5 separate regions of the Homo sapiens genome follow, and regions 1, 2, 3 and 5 are each linked to region 4. The links are contacts of gene promoters, found by promoter capture Hi-C in blood cells and fetal thymus (Javierre and others, 2016). All regions are on one chromosome and are shown on one strand. The core of a region is centred on a gene start or on the middle of the fragment in contact, and the rest is flanking DNA. Distances in the headings are between cores, read along the strand shown.

Region 1 (2,700 bases), core at 154-2,653, 560 kb after region 4:
ATGGAAAGTTAAATCCATGAAACATATATCAACTGACCTTCCTGCCAAATGCAGAACAATGCAAGAGGGTGCAGTCACCAACATTTTAAAACATATAAATAAGAAGTAGAAGTGCACCATCCCTCTCTTCTTAACTGCAATGTTTCCTTTCCCAGAGGCGACCAATGTACCAATTTCCTACACTTCTTCCAGAAGTCTTTAATGCACTTTCAAGCCTATATGTATATATTTCCTTAAATGCACACTCACATACAAATGGTAACAAACCTAACCCATCATTCTGTGCTCTACTTTTTTAAATCAGGTGTTGAAGATTCTGCCACATTGATACATATCAGACAGACTTGCTCTTTAAAGACACCAAAGTGACTGGGCACGATGGCTTACATAGGTAATCCCAGCACTTTGGGAGGCTGAGGCAGGAGGATTGCTTGAAGCCAGGGGTTCGAGACCAGCTGGAGTGACAAAGTGAGACCCCACCTCTTTCTCTTTAAAAAAAGACAGCAAAGAATTTTATGATATGGATGCACGTAAGAGACCTAATCAATTATTTAATTTTATTAGTTTAGGTTTGTTCCTCAATGTTTTGCTATTACAAATAATGTTATAACATACATATCATTGTAAGTATATCATACCCATGTGTGAATCTACCTGCAGAATAAATTCCCAGGAGTATAACTGTCAGGTTGAAAAATATGTACATGTGTGATTTTGGTAGATACTGCTCAATTACAAACCTCATAGAGGTTGTGCCAGGTCACCATCCTACCAGCAATACGAGTGGCTGTTTCCCCAAACTCTGGCCAGGCCAGGGTGTTACCAAATTTTCAGTCTTTGCTGAACCAACAGTGACAATGATATCTTATTCTTGTTTTCATTTGCATTTCTCTTACTGTAAGTAGGCAAAGCACCTTTACTAATGTTTAAATGCCTTTTTTAAAAAAAAAAATTCTGTTTCGGTGCTTGTCTCTTGATTTGTTGGTCTTTTTCTTTAATCTTGTAATGATTTGTATTCACACTTAGTACATTAAGAAAAACGGACTGTGCTGTGCAGTACAAATATTTTATTCTAGTTTGTTGGTTGACTTGTGACTTTGTGGCATTTTCTTCCATTCATATTAAAATCGTTTTTCTGCATAGTTAAAGTGATCAATATTTTCTTTCATTGAAGGGGTAGAAGTGGAGGGGAGGCAACCAACATTTAACAGACCCAAATCAAAACTGACCAAAAGCCAAACTCCTTACAATGATCAACAAGATTAGATTTTCCTTGGTTTCCTTTCATGTCCCATCTCTATCAATCCCCTCTAAGCAAAGTAAGTTCCAGCCATATACACTATCTGCATTTCTCAAAACAAATATTGGTACATATTTGTTTTATCTATATAGACTATACCATAGGCTTTTCTTTCTACTTGGAATGCCTTTCCTTAATCCTGTACTCCAAATGTATCTGTTGGACAAATTTCTATGCATACAAAGCAATTGAAATATCACTTCCTTAGTGGAGACTTCCCTGCCTATTTCATCTGAACTGTGCCTAATTAGTTATGAAACATTTTCTGAACCCCACTAGTACTGATCATATGGTTTAGTTCATAACCTACAAACCAGCAGTATGGGCTCTGGGGCCAGGCTGGTTGGGTTCAAATTTCGCCTCTGCTACTTATTTGTTGTGTAAAGGACCCTAAGCAAATTACTCAACTTCTCTGTGTCTCAATTGTCCTCATCTGCAAAATGGGGATAATGGTAATGCCTCATAGGACTGCCTCGAGAAATAAATTCATAAGAGTGTTAAACAGCATCTGCATTGAGAATAGTGCTGACACACAGAAACTGCTTATTAAATAAATAAAAACTTGTTGAGCCCAGAAGCAGTCTGAGCAACAGATAGTCAACAGCCAGGAGGCAATTGTGCAGCAACTTATCTTCTTTCCTGCCTACCTTCTTTTCGAGATTGTGAATGTCTTGAAAGAACAGGCCAAGTATTTTGCTTTACTCAACTTCATATTCTAAGCACCCAACACATGGTAGTTTCATTGAATGAATGAATAAATAAATAAATGATTTTCCATCCAAGTATCTCACTTTAGTTGAAATATAGCATAAATACATATAATAGATTCAAGAAAGGCCTCAAAATAAAAATATACGAATGTAAGTTGTCCATAACACAAGTAAATGTGAAGTCTCTCTACATTTGGTTGCTAAAGAAATAGTCAAGGAGCCCAGTGGATTAGAATAAAGAAAAGGGAATTTCCTTTAAAAGTTTAAAGCAGAGAAAGAACATGAACTGTATAGACAATTACAGAGAGTATCCCAGGGAAGGGAAATGACCCTTACCCAGAGCACTTGAGGGTCCCTAAGTCCTAGGCAGCTCCTCCCATATCTTATGAAACATATTCAGATGTACACACATCCAATATAATTTGGGGGCAAAAAAATGTAGTTTTTTTCTAATTTGGTTTTCAAATTATTTTTGTATTAGTAATTCCTTTGATTCAAAATTGGTTATGATTTCTTAGCAATCATTGGGTACCTGTAAGACGATTCAAGTGAGAAAAACTAATCCACAAATGCTTGCACCTATAATGAGATGTTTATGAATACTTAATTTAATAATTGATGAAATTAGCCTATGTCATAATTTGCAGCTATGTCACTACACATTTAAAAATTTTGGTATCACATTGTTCA
Region 2 (2,700 bases), core at 71-2,570, 580 kb after region 4:
TCTATCACCCACAGTTGTTTTGTCCTTTGTTATTTTCAAAATGAGGGAATAAATGCATTATTTATTATAGCAGCTTGGGAGAAACGTTTTTGAAATGATGCCCATAATGATAATGGGAGAGTGGGGGCAGACTGATAAAAACAACTCCTTTTATCATTTGGGTACATCTACTCTAAATTGGTGGTCACCACATTATCTATATGGCATGCCCCTACCAGCATAACATTTTGGGTCACACACACACAATTTTTGAAGTGTGTGTGTATGTGAGTGCATGCATATGCATGCGCACACGTGTGGAATTCACATGTATTGCTGTAGAAATAGATTCTTGTGGTGGACACTGTGGTGCTCTGCCTAGACCCTCTCTTTAGAGTTAATGCCACCACCTCCCAGCAACTGGAAATATTTGTTGCCAAAGCCTCACAGCTACATTCCTGATTGGAAACTGCCCTTGGCTATAACAAACAGCTCACCCAAGGCCATGTACTCCCAGAGGGTGGCTTGTAGCCAGTGACTGACTGATGGGGATATAAAGACCCCACTCCATTGCCTCAATGCAAGACCACTCTCAAGGGCTATCACAGCCCCGGAGCTCCCGGTAGGGTTTGTTGAGACCTCTGTTGCATGTGCATTTTAGGTCAGCTTTCTCCTATGCCCAGTACTGCCCTCCTCACTTCCATATAGTGGCAAGTTGATACAGTCCCAAGTGTACCAACTGGGACTACTCCCCAACAAACCTGCCTGCAACTCTATGTTTCAGAGTCTGCTTCTATGGACCCAATTTGGAGATTATAAAACATACTCCTAGATAAAAATTCAAACAAGGATGACATTAAAATAAATATAACAAGATCTAATATTTTCTATTTATCTCCCAGTAGTTGTCTTGTACACCCTTAGGTTGTGCCTATCTGCTTTGGGATGATTCCCAAAGATAACTTTGAACATAGGTCACATTAATCCCAGCCCTGAGATGGGAGGTAGAGGTCAAAGAGGAGGACCACACAAAAGAGGAAGAAGAAAAAAGAGCCCTTTCATCCTTCCCACCTAGACAAGTTTAGATTTTCCCAGCATGGGTATCCACAGCCCCACTTCCTTTCCCTTTGAAACATTCATCACTCATTTGATGACTGTCTTTCCAAAAGATCAAAGATCGATGAGGTCAAGACTTACATCCGTCTTGTACATGACTGCAATTAATATCCAACAGTTCCTGGCATAAAATAAGTGCCTCAATAAATATTTGCTGACAGAGGGGTGAGGAAGTTTATCCAGATGTGTTCACCCCTCACTCTCTGCTCCCAGTGGTACACACAGGCTGACCCTTTCCCCACAATTTCAGTTCGGCAGGTCTTAGAGGCTGCCCTGAATCTGGTGGGCCCTCCAAAGAGGCATAGAAGGAGGATTCATTGATTGTTTCAATTGTTTGTTGAGAACCTACTGTGCATCAAGCAACCTGCTCTGCCCTGGGGATCCAGTGCTGATCACAGACACAGACACTCGATCATAGACACAGATACAGGATCAGCAAGAAGTCCCCGATCTTGTGCAGCTTTGAGTGTGGGGGTAGATACTCATCACACAGAGCACAGAAATACAATGGGGGACAAACTAAAATGAGTACCCTAAAGGAAAGAAGGGGTATGCCCTGAAAATGGCATAGTCTGGTGTGCATTTGGGTGGTGATGGTGGTGGTGTTGGGGTGAGGATGGCAGGAGAGTGCCCTCTGAGCCAGCTTCCCCAGGAGAGAAAGTGATCCTTGAGTTTCAGCTGATGATTTGCTTAGCTGGAGCAGGGTTTCTCAATCTCAGCCCTAATTAATGCTTTGGGCTGGATCATTCTTTGAAGGCAGGGGAGGCTGTCATGTGCCTTGTAGAATCTTGAGCAGCAGCCTTGACCTCCACCCACTAGATGCCAGTAGCACCACCCACTAGCCCCAGTTGTGACAGTCAAAATGCCTGCAGACATTGCCAGATGTCCCCTGCAGGGCAGCATCACCCCCAGTGGAGACTCACTGAACTGGGAGAAGAGGCTGGAGAATGGAGAAAGGTGGGAAGGGGAGAGGTATACAAGGAGAAAAGAGAAGCATTGCAAAGGTCATGGGGTCAGCTGAGCTACTGGAGGCTGGAGAGGGCCAGGGTAGGGGCTGGCAGTGCACTCTGAGAGGCAGACAGGGCCAGACCCTGCAGGCTGAGAAAGAAGGAAATGAGTTGTCTGCTCCTTGGTAAAGAAAACAGAAACATTCAGAGAGAGGGTGAGAGCCTACAGGACTATGACAGGATCTCATAACTGTAATCATTGGAATCCAAAAATTAAGAAATAAGCCTCCATAAATCCAGAGCCCTGAGACAATATTAATGGAACTTGGTTAGCACATGTAGCCCATCCAGCCCGCTCCCAGGGCTGACAGGGGATGATAGATGAAACTGAGTGGGGTGCGAGGACATGCCAAAGGTGCTGTTGAATAAATCAGCTGACACTCCCCTGAATTTGCATTGTTAATGGCAGCACCTAAACCCCAGTGTTTCTGCAGAGACTTGTCCCGCTGCTGCCTTCCATCTGAAACGTCCCAAGTGAGTTGGCTAAGGGCAGCAGGGTGTTGAGTGATTAAGTTTGAAACACATTTTATTTTTTGAGACAGGGTCTCATTCTGTCACCCGGGCTGAAGTGCAGTGGTGTGACCACAGCTCACTGCAG
Region 3 (2,700 bases), core at 3-2,502, 540 kb after region 4:
AATAATACATGTCTATTATCACTCATAATCCTTGTTAATGCTTTCACACCCTAGGACTGAGGTTTTCCTTCTAGTTTTTCTTCCCTTCAATTCCTTCTGTCCATTTATTCTTAATTTGAGAGATTTTATTTGTTGCCTTATAACCTTCTTCTTTGCCTTTTTCTTCTCTTCCTTTTTATTCTTTAAACATACATCTTTTGTTTTTTTCTTTTAATCTTCTGTCTTAAGCTTAGACTTTCTCACCTGACACCCATTTTCTCAGCATATGTTAGTGAAACGGGAGAGTTCCCTGATCCCTCACAGGACTTATGACAGAGGTGTCGCTCATGTGCTCAGCCACTACAGGCTCGAACTCCTTTCGGGAGGGCGAGCACACGGATGGGCGGGGGCAAGAGCTGGGGCGGGGCGAGTGCTTTTGGGCTCCAGCCCCAGTAGCGTTTAGGGGTGTGTTACAATTAATGCTCTTTTAGTAGTTGCCATTTGTGGACGGCTAAGTGTTAAACCAGCTCAGTAGAGAGTCAGGGTGACAGCCTTTTACACCCTGCCCTCTTGGTACCTGGATCCTTGTCCGGTGTATTAGTCTGTTTTCACACTGCTGATAAGACATACCGGAGACCAGGCAATTTACAAAAGAAAGAGGCTTATTGGACTCATAGTTCCACGTAGCTGGGCAGGCTTCACAATCATGGCAGAAGGTGAAAAGCGTATCTCACATGGCAGCAGGCAAGAGGAGAGAACTTGTGCAGGCAAACTCCCATTTTTAAAGCCATCTGATGTTGTGAGACTTACTATCATGAGAACAGCAGAGGAAAGACCCGCCCCCATGATTCAATTATCTCCCACCAGGTCCCTCCCACAACACGGAATTATGGGAGCTACAAGATGAGATTTGAGTGGGGACACAGAGCCAAACCATATCATCCAGCGTCCAGGAAGATTCAGGTCACTCAGACTTGAAGGATGGTGAGTGCAGGGATTTTATTGGGTGATAGAAGTAGCTCTCAGTGGGATGGATGGGGAGCTGGAAAGAGGATGGAATGGGAAGGTGATATTCCCCCAGAGTTTGGCTGCCCCACAGCCGATCTCCTCTCTGACTGTCCCCAGCTGAACTCCTGTTGATGTTCAGACGCTCCTTCTCTTCTCTTCTTCTATGCCATGCCACTCTGCTGCTCTGTCGTTCTGCTACTCTTCTGTTCCTCTGCTCGTGGAGCTTGGGGTTTATGTGGGCACAGAATAGGGGCATGGCAGGCCAGAGTGGTCTTAGAAAAGGCAACATTTGGGCGTGAAAACAGGGATGCCTGTTCCCATTTAGGTCCATGGGTTTCCAGGCTTGAGGGTGGGGCCTTTGCCAGGGAACTGCCCTCTTCTACCTAGTATTTCCTCGCCTCCTGCCCATATCATTAGCATTTTTAATAATTTTACATTGACCTTGAGCAGAATCACTTAACTTTCATTTTCTGATTGGCATTTTCTAAGGGTCTTGTAACTCCAAATTTCAGCAAATCTTCTTTCGTACTCAGTACTTGTTCAGTGCTCAAGTGTTGGTACGTAGGTAGAGGTAAGCTGCTGTTGGTGTCTACCCAGTTTCCCTCACTCATAGGAGCCACCTCCACTCACCCACATCCCTTGAGGCTCTGGGATGATGTCAGTCACAGTATTCTGCCTGCCCTCTTGCTGCAGCCATAACCACGTGACCCGGACCTGGCCAGTCGTGGCCAGTCATAGCACACCATTTCCCTGCCTACAGAGGGGTTCAAAGTCTTAGGTTCCTAACTCAAGGAGAGGTGCCAGGACCCAACTCCACTGCCAGATAAAGAAAGCCTGTCTGTGTTTGAAGAGAATGAAACCAACACACAAAGAAAAGTATAAAAAGCAGAGCCAAGATATAGAAATATTTCTACTACAGCATTTTAGTACTTGGATTTAGCAGTACCTTTGGATTCACCTTCAGCCTTTTGAGTCAGAAGAGATGAACAGATTTGCTTTTTTAAAAGTTATTTTGAGATGATTTATTTCATAATAGAGTCTTACACAATGTCTAATAGTATATCAAACCAAATGCTATGCAATTGCATGAAATAAAAGGCTAACTCGCATTAATCTTGATGAGACTCAAGTCTTTTATGTATATTACTTCATACAAAATTGGTAAATAAAGGAATGATATTGGTACATTGGTATAATATGGAAATTGCATGGATTCATACACAATTTTTCTCAGCACATTGTTTTAAAGCAATTAGGGCAAGATTTCTTATAATTAATGAGAAAGCTTTAAAGATATATGAAAACATTTTGGAAAAAAAGCTGAAAATCTGCAGAAGTTTATTCTTTATTGGGAAAAAAAGCCTCATTTAGTAGCTTTAGGGACCTTCAGTAATTTTCATTCAGTTAAGCTATCTGGAACAGGCATGGATAAAGACACTAAGAAGATATTTCTAGTTATATAAAACAATGGATTAGGAAGCCTACAGACTGGATACGATTTTAAAATTTGATGAAAATTGAATTTTTTAAAAGCAAATGCCTTCTAATACTTACATCTTAAAGGAGGAAGCACAAGTCTAGGAAATTATAAGGAAGCAAATGATTAACAGCCATGAAAACTAGAAGAAAGCTAACTGTGGTAACATTTTTATTAGTAATATTTTTATTGGTATTCTGGTTACATAGTTCATAAGTTTTTAGTGTCTTCCTGAA
Region 4 (2,700 bases), core at 126-2,625:
CTTGGATATTTTGTCCAATAAACTATCTTCTAAGGACTCTGAAAATGCACTGAATATTTTTGGAGGGTTTACTGGGTGCCAGACGCCACTTTAGGAGTTTTACATATCCTCTCCATTTCATTTAGTTCTCTTAGCACAGAGAAGTGGGAGAAGATAGTCCCATTTTACAGGTGGGATGAAGAGAGAGATGGAGGAATTTGCCCCAGGTTACTCAGCTAGAAGGTGGTGAAGAACTCAAGCCTTCGGATATCAGCGCCTGGCATTTAACTACCAATCGGTCCTGCTGGGACTCCGGCTCCTCTGGCACCATCCCCGGGACCTACTCAGAGAGTTTGCACGTGGCCGGTCGCGTTCCATCGTCTAACAAGGTCCAGCACAGCGCAAATCCGAAGATCGTCTACCCCGGGGAAAAAGAGAGTCTGTTTAATTCTCCTGTGGCCCTCCAAGTGAGTTCTTTTGGGTTCCATTGCCTAGACGAGGAAAGTGAGGCTTTGCCTGCTCTGCGCTCACAGGGTCGGCAAGTAGTGGGACCCTAGGTTCCTGCAGTATTCCAGAGATAATCAAAGCTGCACAGGTCTCGTCATTTTTATGCAAAGGCGTCCGGAAGGCTCGAACTCTCCCTTGCACAAGCCCATCTGTCTCTGTGCGCCGCCCCCGGGACACGGAAGCAGGCGGCGAGCAGCGCCGAGTGGGTGGAGAACCGTCCCCCGCCACTCACCCCTCGGCCAACTCTCCGCGCCTTCTCAGCCGGCACCCACGAGGCCGACCTCTCTCGGCCTAAAAAAAAAAAAAAAAAATCCCGGCCTCCCCTGCACCCCGCCCGCCGCCCCCAGGGAGCTGCATTAATATTAATCTCGCTGAATAATTGAAGGCCAGAGATTTATTCGAGCTTCGGCGGGGGAGGGAGCGCAGCTGGGCCGCGTTTAGGCTGCACCACCCGCGTGTTTCAGCCGCTCGACTCCGCTGGACCTGGGACCCCCAGACGTGGGAGGATGGGGTGGGTGTGCCTGCCTGTGAGTTTGGGGGTGAGTGTGAGCTGAAGCGGGTGCTCCGGGGAGTGAGGAGGGAGCGCCAGGGGCTGCTCCAGGGAGGCGGAGACGGAGGGGCATCCCGGGTCTCCGCGCGGTCGCCTGCGCTTCACCCCGCACGGGGTGACCTGGGGCCACGCGGGCTTCAGGGGAAACAATAGCTACTCCTTAGATCCTGGGCTCCTGCCACCGGCTGCCCAAGCCTTCCCGGACGAGCGGCGGGGCCTCTTTTCTTATTTGGCTAATTTATGGCGAGAGGCTGGGGGGAGGGATGGCAGAGGAGGGACCGCGACTGGAGATGGGGGCGGGGGGCGGCGGTTAAAGGAGTTGCCCGAGGCGGCGGCGCGGGTGATGTCAGCTCTCGACGAAAATAGAGAGGGATCGCCTGCAAATCCCCAGCTCCGGCGGGGCTAAACCTTGCAATCCCTCCCTGGCCGGCGCCGAGCCAGAGCGCAGCGGCCTCCACCGCCTCCCCAGGCGCGCACACACCCGCACACGCGCACGCACGCTCACCGTCCTCTGCCACCACTCTCTGCTCCCGCCACTCGCCGCGCCCGCGAGCCCCGCAGCAAAGCACAGGTGGCAGCGGCTGCAGGGGCGCATCGCCGGCGTGCGCCCTCCTGCAGCCCTGGGCGCATCGCTCTCTCGGGGAAGCCACCCTCGGAGCCCCCGGAGCTCCCCGCCAAGCGCCATCCCCGCGGGCGGAGGGGAGCGCGGGTCGCGCGCCGTGGAGAGCCGGGACGCGGATTAGCGCCCGCAGGAGCCTCCTGCGCCCGTTGAGGCGCTAAAGGGCTTACCCCGGAGGCGGGTGGAAGGGCGGGCAGAGGCTCCTCTTAAATACCGCTCCCGGCCGCACTTCGCGCTCACCCCGGCGTCCGCTTTCTCCCTCGCCCACAGCTGCCGGATAGTGCTGAAGAGGAGGGGGCGTTCCCCAGACCATGGCATCTACGGAAGGGTGAGGGGATTTTTATCTGTACCCGCGGGAAAGCGGGGTCACGCGCGGGGTGGTGGCGCCCCTATCCGGGATGCGGATAGAGAGGCGGCGGCGGCGGGCCTCGGAGGTGGTGGCGGAGCCGTAGCTTGGCTGGGGATGGGATGGTGGGGAGGGGATTGATTTTCTTTCCTGGAGATTGCTGCTTAATCCTTTGAAAATGCGAGAGGTGGAGGGTTGTTTTATTTTGATAAAAAGGGTAAGGTGCGCTGGGGGCCTGAGAGTGTGAGGAAGAAATCCTCTTGAGGTTACTTTTGGGATTTCAAAACAATAGGGGATTGGGCATAGTGTGAGCAGACACCGGGGTAGCAGCGCCTGGAGCGCGGCGCCCCAGGCCCGAGGCGGGCTTGCAGGTGGTGCCGGCTCGGAAGGAATGAGCCAAGACAGGGCCCTGGGGCGGGGCAAGGACCAGCGCGCGCGGCCTTGAACGCCAGGTTTGCAGAGTCGCCATGGAGATGCTGGGCCCGCTCCGATCGGTCCTTGTCCCTGGAAGGCGGAATCTCCCTGGCTAGCTCTAAGGAAGGGTGGAAGAGATTTGGGTGCTTCCCGGGAGGCGGGAAAACGTGTGGTTTGGGACAAGGGCAGGAGTCGCCAGACTCCAGCGGGCAGGGATAGCATTGGCTTCCCTATTCAGCCCGAGGATCTGGAGTCGTGTCCTGCCTCCCAAGATTCCAGCTGGCA
Region 5 (2,700 bases), core at 80-2,579, 530 kb after region 4:
ATACTCAGTTTTTGAGTACCAGAGTTAAATAACATGCTACCAAGTATGTTCATATACCTGAGATTCTAGAGGATCCTCTCTAGGTAGATAGGATTTGTTTCAAAGGTTCAGGTACTTTGGTTTTTGAAACAGAGTCTTGCTCTGTCACCCAGGCTGGAGTGCAGTGGGGCGATCATGGCTCACTGCAGCCTTGACTTCCCAGGCTTAAACAATCCTCCTACCTCATCCTCCTGGGCAGCTGGGACTACAGGCATGTGCGACCACGCCTGGCTAATTTTTTCTGGGGTTTTTTTTTTTTTTTTTTTTGTAGAGACTGGGTCTCACTAAGTTGCATGGGCTGGTCTCAAACTCCTAGGCTCAAGCAACCCACCTGCCTTGACCTCCCAGATACATATTTCAAAGTCACTTAAATACAGATGACTAATCATTAAAAATCCTAATAATTATTTTTTATTGAATCAAAAGAACGGCAGTATGCTTTCTAAGCACCTGTATCATTAATGAATATAGTGCCTGCTAATCTGTATTCCTCAGAGGACAAAACAAGATGTACTGGACTTAAATTGAAGCAGAAAGGATAAATAGTATTCAATTGCTCATTGTATTTATTTAGTGTCATTTATTCAAGAAGATGAAGAAATAAAGTAAGTATTAGTAACTGTGAGTAAGAAGTAACTTGCTATCAATGAAATTAAGATTATAGAATCTCATTCAAGGATTTCCAATACAGGATTAATCTTTTTTTCCTCCTGAAATGTGTTAGGAATATTATTGTCTGGAGGTTGTGTGTTAAATTGAGTGATGTTGATTTATTACTTCATTCTAATTCACTTTCTTTAACAAAATTGGATTATTAAAATATTTATGTGCTGTTGAATATATATAGTCATGCCCCCAAGGAGGCTGCATTGCATATTAAGGAATGGAATGTAAAATATAATCAGAACATTGGGAACAAAAGGGATTCAATGGTACACCACAAGATGATGCCATTATAATTTTATCTGCTTTAAATTACTGAGTTAACTCATGAAATTTTCATTGAACATTGGGAAATGACAAGAGGTTCCTCTGTTAACAACTGGCACAGTTAGGGATAAAAGTATGCTCTCAGTCTAGTAAGATTATGTTCCATATGGTAGATCAATAAATCCATCTGTGCCTCCTCTCTTACCATCAGCCTAGTTGCTAATGTGTAAATACAGCATTGCTCAAGCTTTCACATTATTTTGCCAAAACTTTCAAGATGGCCTATTCACAGCAAATCCTACGATAACAACATTTATTCTTGTTTCATGTATCCATTTAGAAGTTGAGTCCCAGTAATATAGTTTCCCAACTGTATTATTTATAATAAATCATATTCTAAATGCTGTCTTTAGTTAACTGCTTTTTATTTGCATGTTCAGAAATAGTTTGTGTATGTATAAAATAAAGCTTTCTACCAAATGAGCTAAAATAACCATTTCCAACTGGCTCTTTAAAAAAACTAGCAAAGTTAAAAATAGGTGAATGCAGGACTCAAGATGAAATATTTTTGATCAAAAAGACATAAAGGACTATGTTCTTTCTAGTAGAATTTTACTAATCCATGCACTACCATTTTATGTGACCACCATAAACCACTCATTGGCGCATCTTTTAAAATTAAATGGGCTTTTATAGCACTAAAATCAGCTCATAGGAAATTTTCATCATATATGTGAAATGCTTTATCCTTAGTTCTTAATGGGTGTGGAGGTCATGGAAGGAAAGAGCCACAGTCACATGGCACTGTATTTGGAATCTTATTAAATTTGTGCTTTACATAGTAAAATGAATATTTTGTAGTAAAATGTTGGTTTTTTTCCCTAATATTTAAATGACTTAATAAGTCACTAGCATTATCAGCAATACTATTCTCATGTTGTTAGTGAAAGTTTGGCTCTTTGATGCTTAGGGCAAATAAATTTGGAATAAAATGCAAACGCAATAAATTATGTTTCCAGAATAATACAGACAATAAGCTCTTTGGGAACATAAAATGATTTACTAATTCCAAGATTTGACTGGACCATTCCAGCTTATGCTACAAGTATGTGGTACCAAAAATTAAGTCAGAAGAAGGAAATAAATGACCAAGAAAATAATAGTAATCAAGGCAATTCCAGGATACTCAATAGCTACTGTGTTTAGGTTGGGTCGCTATCATTCAAATTTATAATTTCCTGTTTTCACAGAGTAATATTGACAGGTGTCAGAGAGACTGATCCTGTTGCATGTGATTAGGACTACAATTAATAAAGTCACATTGTAGACAAAATAATTGAGGCACTATAAGATTTAAATTATTTTTTAACTGACCAGAAAGCAAATAAAAATAGAAGCAACTGAACATAGATGTATTTTGACCTCTTGGGGTTTGGCCCTTGCTTACCACAGTGAAAATGCAGGAGTACAGAGAAGTATATTCCAAAATTTAGTAACTTGAAATTCAAAATGCTTTCTGTTTGTGGCTTAAAGCACCAAGTAGATATTTCACTTTAATATTTGGCATGTTTCTATTCTAAAAAGCTCTGTCATTTTTATATTTTTATCCAGATATCTCTTTCTTTGTAGGTGTAAATATATTTTTCTAAAACATTTGGCTAATCTTTTAATTACCCAAAGTTCATCAAAGTCTAAATTAATTTCCATTTTACAAAGACATTTACAACATAC

The links. The method cuts DNA at HindIII sites, captures the fragments that hold promoters and counts their contacts. A CHiCAGO score of 5 or more calls a contact.
Region 1: a fragment that was not itself captured here is called in contact with the fragment with the promoter of SLC1A2 in region 4 in 1 of 17 cell types (activated CD4 T cells); the score reaches 8.1 in activated CD4 T cells.
Region 2: a fragment that was not itself captured here is called in contact with the fragment with the promoter of SLC1A2 in region 4 in 1 of 17 cell types (activated CD4 T cells); the score reaches 6.7 in activated CD4 T cells.
Region 3: a fragment that was not itself captured here is called in contact with the fragment with the promoter of SLC1A2 in region 4 in 6 of 17 cell types (non-activated CD4 T cells, activated CD4 T cells, naive CD4 T cells and 3 more); the score reaches 6.5 in non-activated CD4 T cells.
Region 5: a fragment that was not itself captured here is called in contact with the fragment with the promoter of SLC1A2 in region 4 in 12 of 17 cell types (naive CD4 T cells, activated CD4 T cells, non-activated CD4 T cells and 9 more); the score reaches 10.7 in naive CD4 T cells.

What each region holds. Positions count from the first base shown.
Region 1 is chr11:34,856,682-34,859,381 of GRCh38, reverse strand. All of the region lies in intron 6 of LOC102723568 (a long non-coding RNA gene), which reads right to left. All of the region lies in intron 1 of LOC105376624 (a long non-coding RNA gene), which reads left to right. Among named protein-coding and RNA genes, the nearest start is that of APIP, 58 kb to the left of the region's middle. The HindIII fragment of the contact is 3,549 bases long and covers 1-2,700 here.
Region 2 is chr11:34,836,905-34,839,604 of GRCh38, reverse strand. All of the region lies in intron 6 of LOC102723568 (a long non-coding RNA gene), which reads right to left. Among named protein-coding and RNA genes, the nearest start is that of APIP, 78 kb to the left of the region's middle. The HindIII fragment of the contact is 6,181 bases long and covers 1-2,700 here.
Region 3 is chr11:34,873,430-34,876,129 of GRCh38, reverse strand. The region is part of intron 6 of LOC102723568 (a long non-coding RNA gene); the gene reads right to left. LOC105376624 (a long non-coding RNA gene) reads left to right here and starts at 852. Exons shown (of 2, transcript XR_931185.2): 1 at 852-963. The HindIII fragment of the contact is 2,044 bases long and covers 231-2,274 here.
Region 4 is chr11:35,418,233-35,420,932 of GRCh38, reverse strand. It overlaps SLC1A2 (solute carrier family 1 member 2), which reads left to right and starts at 1,375. Exons shown (of 11, transcript NM_004171.4): 1 at 1,375-1,983. The coding sequence starts at 1,967. SLC1A2-AS2 (SLC1A2 antisense RNA 2) reads right to left here and starts at 1,876. Exons shown (of 2, transcript NR_186310.1): 1 at 1,826-1,876; 2 at 1-397. RefSeq lists an enhancer at 1,229-1,729. The HindIII fragment of the contact is 13,046 bases long and covers 1-2,700 here.
Region 5 is chr11:34,892,074-34,894,773 of GRCh38, reverse strand. All of the region lies in intron 2 of APIP (APAF1 interacting protein), which reads left to right. Among named protein-coding and RNA genes, the nearest start is that of APIP, 23 kb to the left of the region's middle. The HindIII fragment of the contact is 221 bases long and covers 1,219-1,439 here.